Linked DNA regions of Homo sapiens: region 1 is linked to region 2. Evidence: promoter capture Hi-C in 16 types of primary human blood cells and fetal thymus (Javierre and others, 2016). All regions are on one chromosome and are shown on one strand. The core of a region is centred on a gene start or on the middle of the fragment in contact, and the rest is flanking DNA. Distances in the headings are between cores, read along the strand shown. Region 1 overlaps NSF (N-ethylmaleimide sensitive factor, vesicle fusing ATPase). Region 2 holds the start of GOSR2 (golgi SNAP receptor complex member 2).

What was found. The method cuts DNA at HindIII sites, captures the fragments that hold promoters and counts their contacts. A CHiCAGO score of 5 or more calls a contact.
Region 1: a fragment that was not itself captured here is called in contact with the fragment with the promoter of GOSR2 in region 2 in 1 of 17 cell types (naive B cells); the score reaches 5.2 in naive B cells.

The regions. Positions count from the first base shown.
Region 1 is chr17:46,735,253-46,739,488 of GRCh38, forward strand. The region is part of intron 17 of NSF (N-ethylmaleimide sensitive factor, vesicle fusing ATPase); the gene reads left to right. It also overlaps a transcript of LRRC37A2 not described here. Among named protein-coding and RNA genes, the nearest start is that of WNT3, 81 kb to the right of the region's middle. The HindIII fragment of the contact is 1,398 bases long and covers 1,735-3,132 here.
Region 2 is chr17:46,920,837-46,924,812 of GRCh38, forward strand. GOSR2 (golgi SNAP receptor complex member 2) reads left to right here and starts at 2,324. Exons shown (of 6, transcript NM_004287.5): 1 at 2,324-2,385. The coding sequence starts at 2,357. GOSR2-DT (GOSR2 divergent transcript) reads right to left here and starts at 2,035. Exons shown (of 3, transcript NR_186460.1): 1 at 1,975-2,035. It also overlaps a transcript of LRRC37A2 not described here and the pseudogene RNU6ATAC3P. RefSeq lists an enhancer at 2,300-3,024. The HindIII fragment of the contact is 7,846 bases long and covers 1,895-3,976 here.

The DNA.
Region 1 (4,236 bases), core at 1,184-3,683, 190 kb before region 2:
AATCATCAGAGAAATGCTAATAGTGTTGAGACGAAATATTTTTTCATTGCTAGAATGTATTCTTCCAGATCCATTGCCTTAAATAAGTTACTGTGGCATTACATTAGCTTTTGAAAGGTGGGGATTATAACGTCGTAGTAGTCCATGGGTGCCATGACTCTAGTTAAGAGCACCCTTTCTGTAGAACTTACTCTTTGTATTGAACTTGAGGTTTAAAAAAAAAAAAAAGAAACCTATGTCTTAGCTCAGATATCATCTGGCATTATAGCCTTGAACGTCCCTTAATTTCTTGGTGTCTATTTCTTCATCTGTAAAATAGAGATAATTCCTCATGTGTTACCTACTCTGTTGAGGGTCAGCTAAGATAATGTGTAGTGAAGCCCTTTGTAAACTGGTGGACTACATGAGCTGTCCAGGCGCAGTGGCTCATGCCTGTAATCCCAGCACTTTGGGAGGCTGAGACAGGTGGATCATTTGAGGTCAGGAGTTCAAAACCAGCATGGCCAACATAGTGAAACCCGATCTCTACTAAAAATACAAAAATTAGCTCGACGTGGTGGTGTGCACCTGTAATCCCAGCGACTCGGGAAGCTGAGGCAGGAGAATTGCTTGAACCCAGGAGGCGGAGTTTGCAGTGAGCTGAGATTGTACCACTGCACTCCATCCTGGGTGGATGGAGTGAGACTCTGTCTCAAAAAAAGAATTGCCTTTGGATAGTCCACAGAACCTTTTCAGCTTGTAAGATAGGAAAACTGAAGAACGTATAATAACTGCTATATAGAGGAAGTTTCCATAGGAAGTGAGTTCAGAGCTCCCACTTTGGAATGCCTGAACCCAACTTCCCTCATTTGCAGTACTGGGAAAAGAAACCTGCTTCCCCATCTCTCATTCACTGAAATTTAGAAGCTTCCTACATCCTAAGACAAATACTCTTGTCTGGGGATTAGGGATTCCTGTTGTAGAAAGAAGTAGGAAGTGGAGACAGGAATTGCCAAGATCAGTAGGCCACCACCAGGTCACACTTGTCTTCAGCCTCCAGGGACTGGCCCACCTGCTTCCTTTCCCTGCCACCACCTGTTGCTTGTGGCTGAAGTTCCCCTTTTCTCCTAACTCATGGTGCAACAAAGTGGTGCTTCACAGTTTCTTTCCTACCTTTCTGTCCCAGAAACAAGAATGCAGATCTTTGGAGATTTCCTGTGTCCTTGGGGATCTCACAATGGCCAGAAGCCCTGGCCCTCCCTCTACTCCTTACCCTGTTAATCTTGGATGGTAGGATTATAGGTGATTTCTTTTTTATTTTGCTTTATTGTTTCCTGTACTTTATAGATTTTCTACAATAAGCATATGTTACTTTGATAATCAGGAAAAAATAAAAAATGTGTATACAATTATTTTTAACTTAGCAGTATAACTGTCAAAAATTCCTTAATTCCATTGCTTTGGTACTAATTTGCTGCTAACCACTAGGGTTAAATGAGACTACCTTTGTATCTAAGCTTGTCTATGTATAATATATTTTTAACCTTGTTCTTTTTATGACTTAAGATTTAATTGAATATCTGAAATATGCTGTGGGTTTTGGAGTAAAAGTGTGCAAGTGCCTCCTAACTCTCACAGTTGTCCTGGGAAACCCACCTGGCACTTGGCTCAGTGCCATGCTCCCCATCTAAACTTACCATGGTTGAATGCCAGTGTGACTAAAGTTGACCAAGGTAGATGGTAACGATTGTCTTAAGCTTCATTGAAAGGAGATCGGAAGTTTCTTTTTCACCAAAAATATTTCTTTTGACATAGAAGTTTAAAACATTTCTTTAAGGAACATCTGCTTTTATTAGATGTACATTTAAGAAATCCTTCTCAGTATAGAGATAAAAAGATGAATAAGACATTGTACCTGCCCTCAGATGGCTCATAGTCCAAGAACACTGTTCAATTGTGAAGTTTGTGCACAAGGTGGGCACAGGTCAAGTAGCAAATGAAGGTTAACATCCAGCCCACATGCTGCCCACCAAGGAGTCCACCCTGGTTTGGGACTGAATCTGCCCTGAGTAAGGTTACCAGATTTAGCAGATAGGAATATAGGATACTTAGTTAAATTTAAATTTCAGAAAAACATCACATAATTTTTTAGCATCAGCATATCCCATATTTTGGTCAGACTTATACTCAGGTATTTCTCTAGCAACCCTAACGCTGAACAAGAGGAAGAGGGTGCCTTTTAGCTCATACGAGGTGCTGGGGCTTGGGGAAGGAAGCAAGGGTGGCTGCACTCACCCAGATGATTGCTTTTTTCTAATTTGTTCACCTAGGGTGTGTGTGCGTGTGTGTGTGTGTGTGTGTGTGTGTGTGTGTTTTCTGATCCATGCAGAAGCTAACTGGTGTCCCTGTCACAATCCAGGGTGGGAGAAAGATGTGAAAACATGATGCATAGAGTTAGGTTTTATATGTTACGTGGTTCCAGTGGAACATAAAGGAAAGTGTGGTCCATTTTACCTGAGAAGATGTGCAAATCATTCACAAATAGTAGTTTCGGATCCTGGTCTTGAAAGATGAGTAAAAGGGAGATTTAGTCAGGGCCATTGTGCCATGCTAAGGAATTCAAGCGCTGCAGCAATGGAGAGAGAAGGTGAAGGATTTATGTATGCTAAAATTAGCATATTATTATTATTATTATTATTATTATTATTATTATTATTATTAGAGATAGGATCTTGCTGTGTTGCCCAGGGTGGAGTGCAGTGACGCAGTCTCAATCACTGCAGCCTTTACCTCCTGGGCTCAATTGATCCTCCCGCCTCAGCCCCTGGAGTAGCTGGGACAACAGGTGCACACCACCACACCTGACTAATCTTTATATTTTTTGTATAGACAGGGTTTTGCCATGTTACCCAGGCTGGTCTCAAACTCCTGGGCTCAAGCAGTCCACCCACCTCAGCTTCCCAGAGTGCTGGGATTACAGGTGTGAGCCATTACACCCAGCCTAAATTTTTTTAATTAACGTACAATATGATACTTGAGAATTTGAGGATATGTTCTGTGTACTTATCTTAGGCTTCATATGGCATAGTTTCACTGGAGGGAAGAATAGAAATTCATAAGAAATTATAGGCTTCATTTTTTCTAAATGACTGAAGCTTAACCTCTTTAAATATCAATTATTATACTTTAGCCTTTTTTAAGAGGAAAAAAATTGCTACATACATTCTTAGTGTCTGAAGCAAAGTATAATAAACTCTATGTTAATGAATAAGGACCATCATAACAAACCATAATTGATGGGTCAGTATTTTCATGGGTGGGACTCAGCAGGAACTGTTGGAATATACAGGATTCCGTCCTGGTGCCTGTTAGGTAGATACGGTGTGCCCTGTTTGTTGAGTTTTTTGTACCTTTTCTTTTTTTAGTGGTTTTGCTATCAGCTGTTACTTGCAGAATCCAAGTGAGTTGTGTCAGCTGGCCTGCCTCTGATGACTCCTTTTTCCAGTGTGCTGCTTTCATCTGCTATAAATTAAGGCAGGCAACCACCAGGATTCATGAGCTGTTCATACAGTAAGAGAACTAAACTGTGGTTGGGCGCAGTGGCTTACGCCTATAATCCCAGCACTTTGGGAGGCCAAGGCAGGAGGATCACTTGAGTCCAGGACTTCTAGACCAGCCTGGGCAATATGGCAAAACCCCATCTCTACTAAAAATACAAAAAAGTCCAGGCACGGTGGCTCACACCCGTAATCCCAGCACTTTGGGAGGCCAAGGCAGGAGGATCGCTTGAGTCCAGGACTTCTAGACCAGCCTGGGCAATATGGCAAAACCCCATCTCTACTAAAAATACAAAAAAGTCCAGGCACGGTGGCTCACACCCGTAATCCCAGCACTTTGGGAGGCCAAGGTAGGTGGATCATTCAAGGTCAGGAGTTCGAGACCAGCCTGGCCAGTATGGTGAAACCCCCGCCTCTACTAAAAATACAAAAATTAGCCAGGCATGGTGACAGGCGTCTGTAGTCCCAGCTACTCAGGAGGCTGAGGCAGGAGAATCGCTTGAACCCAGGAGGTGGAGGTTGCAGCGAGCCGAGATCGCGCCACTGCACTCCAGCCTGGGCAACAGAGCGAGACTCTGTCTCAAAAAAAAAAAAAAAAAAAAAAGCCAAGCATGGTGGTGCACACCTGTAATTCCAGCTACTCGGGAGGCTGAAGTGGGAGAATCACCTGAGCCCAGGAGGTCGAGGCTGCAGTGAGTGG
Region 2 (3,976 bases), core at 1,074-3,573:
AGTTCCAAGCCACAAAGCCAAAATTAAGCTGCTCATCTGACCTTAGGAGAAATCAGAAGAGAGGGAAAATAGCCATATCCCCATGATAAAGGAAGTCCCTTCTGCCTTAACCAATACAAGTAAAATAACTTTGAAACTTGTTCTTTGTTTCTGCTTTTTTTTTTCAGCCCTTTTCTGTCTATAAAGATAATCTCCTCTGCTCAGCTCATCAGAATACTCATTCTATTTTATAGAATAAGGTGTTGCCTGGTGCTAGAATCGCAAATAGCCAGTTAAGATCTGTAACTGTGTTGTATTAAAGGAGAGAAGGTTAGCACTCCCTTTGACAAGGATGGAAGAGGCCCTTGGGCCTGACAACACGCATACGGTTAAGGCATTACCACCTACTTCGTGGGATCTAACCATCGTTTTTGAAATGGTGCTGGGAAAACTAGCTAGCCATATGTAGAAAGCTGAAACTGGATCCCTTCCTTACACCTTATACAAAAATCAATTCAAGATGGATTAAAGACTTACATGTTAGACCTAAAACCATAAAAACCCTAGAAGAAAACCTAGGCAATACCATTCAGGACATAGGCATGGGCAAGGACTTCATGTCTAAAACACCAAAAGCAATGACAACGAAAGCCAAAATTGACAAATGGGATCTAATTAAACTAAAGAGCTTCTGCACAGCAAAAGAAACTACCATCAGAGTGAACAGGCAACCTACAGAATGGGAGAAAATTTTTGCAATCTACTCATCTGACAAAGAGCTAATATCCAGAATCTACAATGAACTCAAACAAATTTACAAGAAAAAAACAAACAACCCCATCAACAAGTGGGCGAAGGATATGAACAGACACTTCTCAAAAGAAGACATTTATGCAGCCAACAGACACATGAAAAAATGCTCATCATCACTGGCCATCAGAGAAATGCAAATCAAAACCACAATGAGATACCATCTCACACCAGTTAGAATGGCGACCATTAAAAAGTCAGGAAACAACAGCTGCTGGAGAGGATGTGGAGAAATAAGAACACTTTTACACTGTTGGTGGGACTGTTAACTGGTTCAACCATTGTGGAAGACAGTGTGGAGATTTCTCAGGGATCTAGAACTAGAAATACCATTTGACCCAGCCATCCCATTACTGGGTATATACCCAAAGGATTATAAATCATGCTGCTATAAAGACACATTTACATGTATGTTTATTGCAGCACTATTCACAATAGCAAAGACCTGGAACCAACCCAAATGTCCAACAATGACAGACTGGATTAAGAAAATGTGGCATATATACACCATGGAATACTATGCAGCCATAAAAAATGATGAGTTCATGTCCTTTGTAGGGACACGGATGAAGCTGGAAACCAACATTCTCAGCAAACTATCGCAAGGACAAAAAAACAAACATTACATGTTCTCACTCATAGGTGGGAACTGAACGATGAGAACACTTGGACACAGGAAGGGGGACATCACACTTCGGGGCCTGTTGTGGGGTGGGGAGAGGGGGAAGGGATAGCATTAGGAGATATACCTAATGTAAATGACGAGTTAATGGGTGCAGCACACCAACATGGCACATGTATACATATGTAACAACCCTGCACGTTGTGCACATGTACCCTAGAACTTAAAGTATAATAATAAAAAATAATAAAATAAAGAAAAAAAATCTATAACTACATTTCTTGTAATTTTGTCTTTTGAGAGTATACATATCTTATTTCCTTTCCCAGACCAGAACCTCTTTGAGGGCAGGAGGAACCCGGTTTTCCCTACTTTACACATGACACATAATAACCACTCATTCAATGTAGGTTTACTGGATGGATAAATAGGAATGGGGGGTAGATAGGCGGGAGAGTGAGTAGACAAATGCGAAACAGGAAAAGCTTGCGCCAGGAAAAACAGTGAAGAGCGAAATCTCCAGACCCCCGATTAAATGGTTTAAAGTGAAGCCAAGCAAGAACCTCCAGTCCTCTCTGCGGCAGAGAACAGCAGATGATAGCGGCTCGCCTTCAACTTTGCTCTGAGGACCTCTCGTTAGTATCCCGCGATTGTCCTTCCTAACGCCTGACTGAATCCTGAGGCTAGCCTTCAGCGAACATGTACACCGCCTTGCCCTTCACGTGAAGCCGAGCCTGTGACTACACTTATCCTTCCGTCGCCGGCCTCATTTCTCCTTCCCCTTCTCCGATCTCGCAACCACTGCTAGTAAGGCGCGCGTGCGGGCAGCCCTGGCCGGCAGGGGAGGGAGGGTCCTGCGACCGGAAGCCGGAAACCGGAAGGGGGGCTGTGAGGACGTGTTCCGAGGAAGCCAGAGCCGGAGCCGTGGCCTGCGGGGCCGGCGACATGGATCCCCTGTTCCAGCAAACGCACAAGTGAGGGCCGGTCGGGGAGCGGGCAGGGGCTAGACGAGGCGAGGCCAGGTGAGCCTGGCTTCTGGGGCTGAGGCCTCGGACGTCAGCCAGGGTAGAGGCCGAGTTTTTCCGCCAGGGCACTGCTGGGGATGCCTCCGAAGTGCTTAATCCTTGGCGGGACTCCCAGGTCAGCCACAGACAGTGGGTTCAGGCTGGGGCCTGGAGACGTGGGGCAGATGACTCCTGGGGTCTGCAAGTTCGTGACTACCTGCTGGGTAGACTGGGTGACGGGAAACTGGCACCTGCAGGTTATAAAACTTTGTCCAGCACTTGTCAACTCGGTGCTCCTGGTTGGTAGACCTCGAGAGGAGACACGGAGTAGGAGACACGGCCCCTGGCCGTAGGAGTGTACTGTTTAATTGGAGAGTCAGGGCACGTACGGGAAAGTATTTGTATTCTTATTCGATTTATACTAAAGACCACATTTTTATGGTACAAAGAAATTGCTGTCCACGTAGCATTCACTATTATTACTTGTTAATCGTATCTGGTTACAGGTTATCGCTAAGAAAATCAAATTGTAATTTAGTTTCTCATAACTTAAATTCCTTGGTAGTGTCCTTTATTCGCATCGTCCTGCACTTTCGGAATTGCTGAGATACGTAGTTGAGTATTAATGGGGCCATACTTACCCTATTTTTGGGGGCGGGGGGCAGAATTATGATTTTTACCCTGTTTTGGAGGGACGGAATTTTATGATTTTTATTTTTTATTGTAAAATATACACAACATAAGATTTACTGTTTTAACAATTTTTAAGTGTACAATTCAGTGACATTGAGTACATTCACAACTTACATCACTACGATCCATTTCCAGAACTTTTTCATCATCCCAGTGTGCCTGTTAATCAGTAGCACTTCATTTCTTCCTTCCAGAACACCTAGTAACCTCTGTTTTACTTCTCTCTATGAGTTTACCTATTCTAGATACTTAATATAAGTGGAGTCATACAGAATTTGTCCTTTTGTATCTGGCTTATTTCACTTAATGTTTTCAGGGTTCATCTATATTGTAGCCTGTTACCAGAATTTCATTCTGTTTTATGACGGAATAATATTCCGTTTTATGTGTCTACCACATTTTGTTATCCATTCATCTGTTGATGGACACTTGAGTTGTTTCCACCATTGGGCTGTTGAGAATAATACTGCTATGAACTCTGGTGTAGAAGTATCTGTTTTAGTTTCTCTTCTCAATTTTTTGAGGTATATACCTATCCTATTGAGAACTTTCAAACTTATGCTGTAGTTTTGTTGATTAAAACACTTAAAATCACACTCCCAAGGCCTGGAAATGAAATGCCCTGAAGCATGAGGAATAAGAGGGTGATGATCCTCTTTCTCTTTCATTTTCTAAGTTTATGGGTTTCTTTTATTTTGGCGATGAGGTGTTTCATTTGGACAGGCGAAAATACAGAACCTACTTTGTAATGACAGAATTTTCTTTTACACTGGGGAGCCCTATTCTCACATAAACGTTATAGGAAGGGACTTAAAACTAGTCTGTGAGTAATTTAGAGAAAGAATGAAACGAAATTATGTTCATGTTA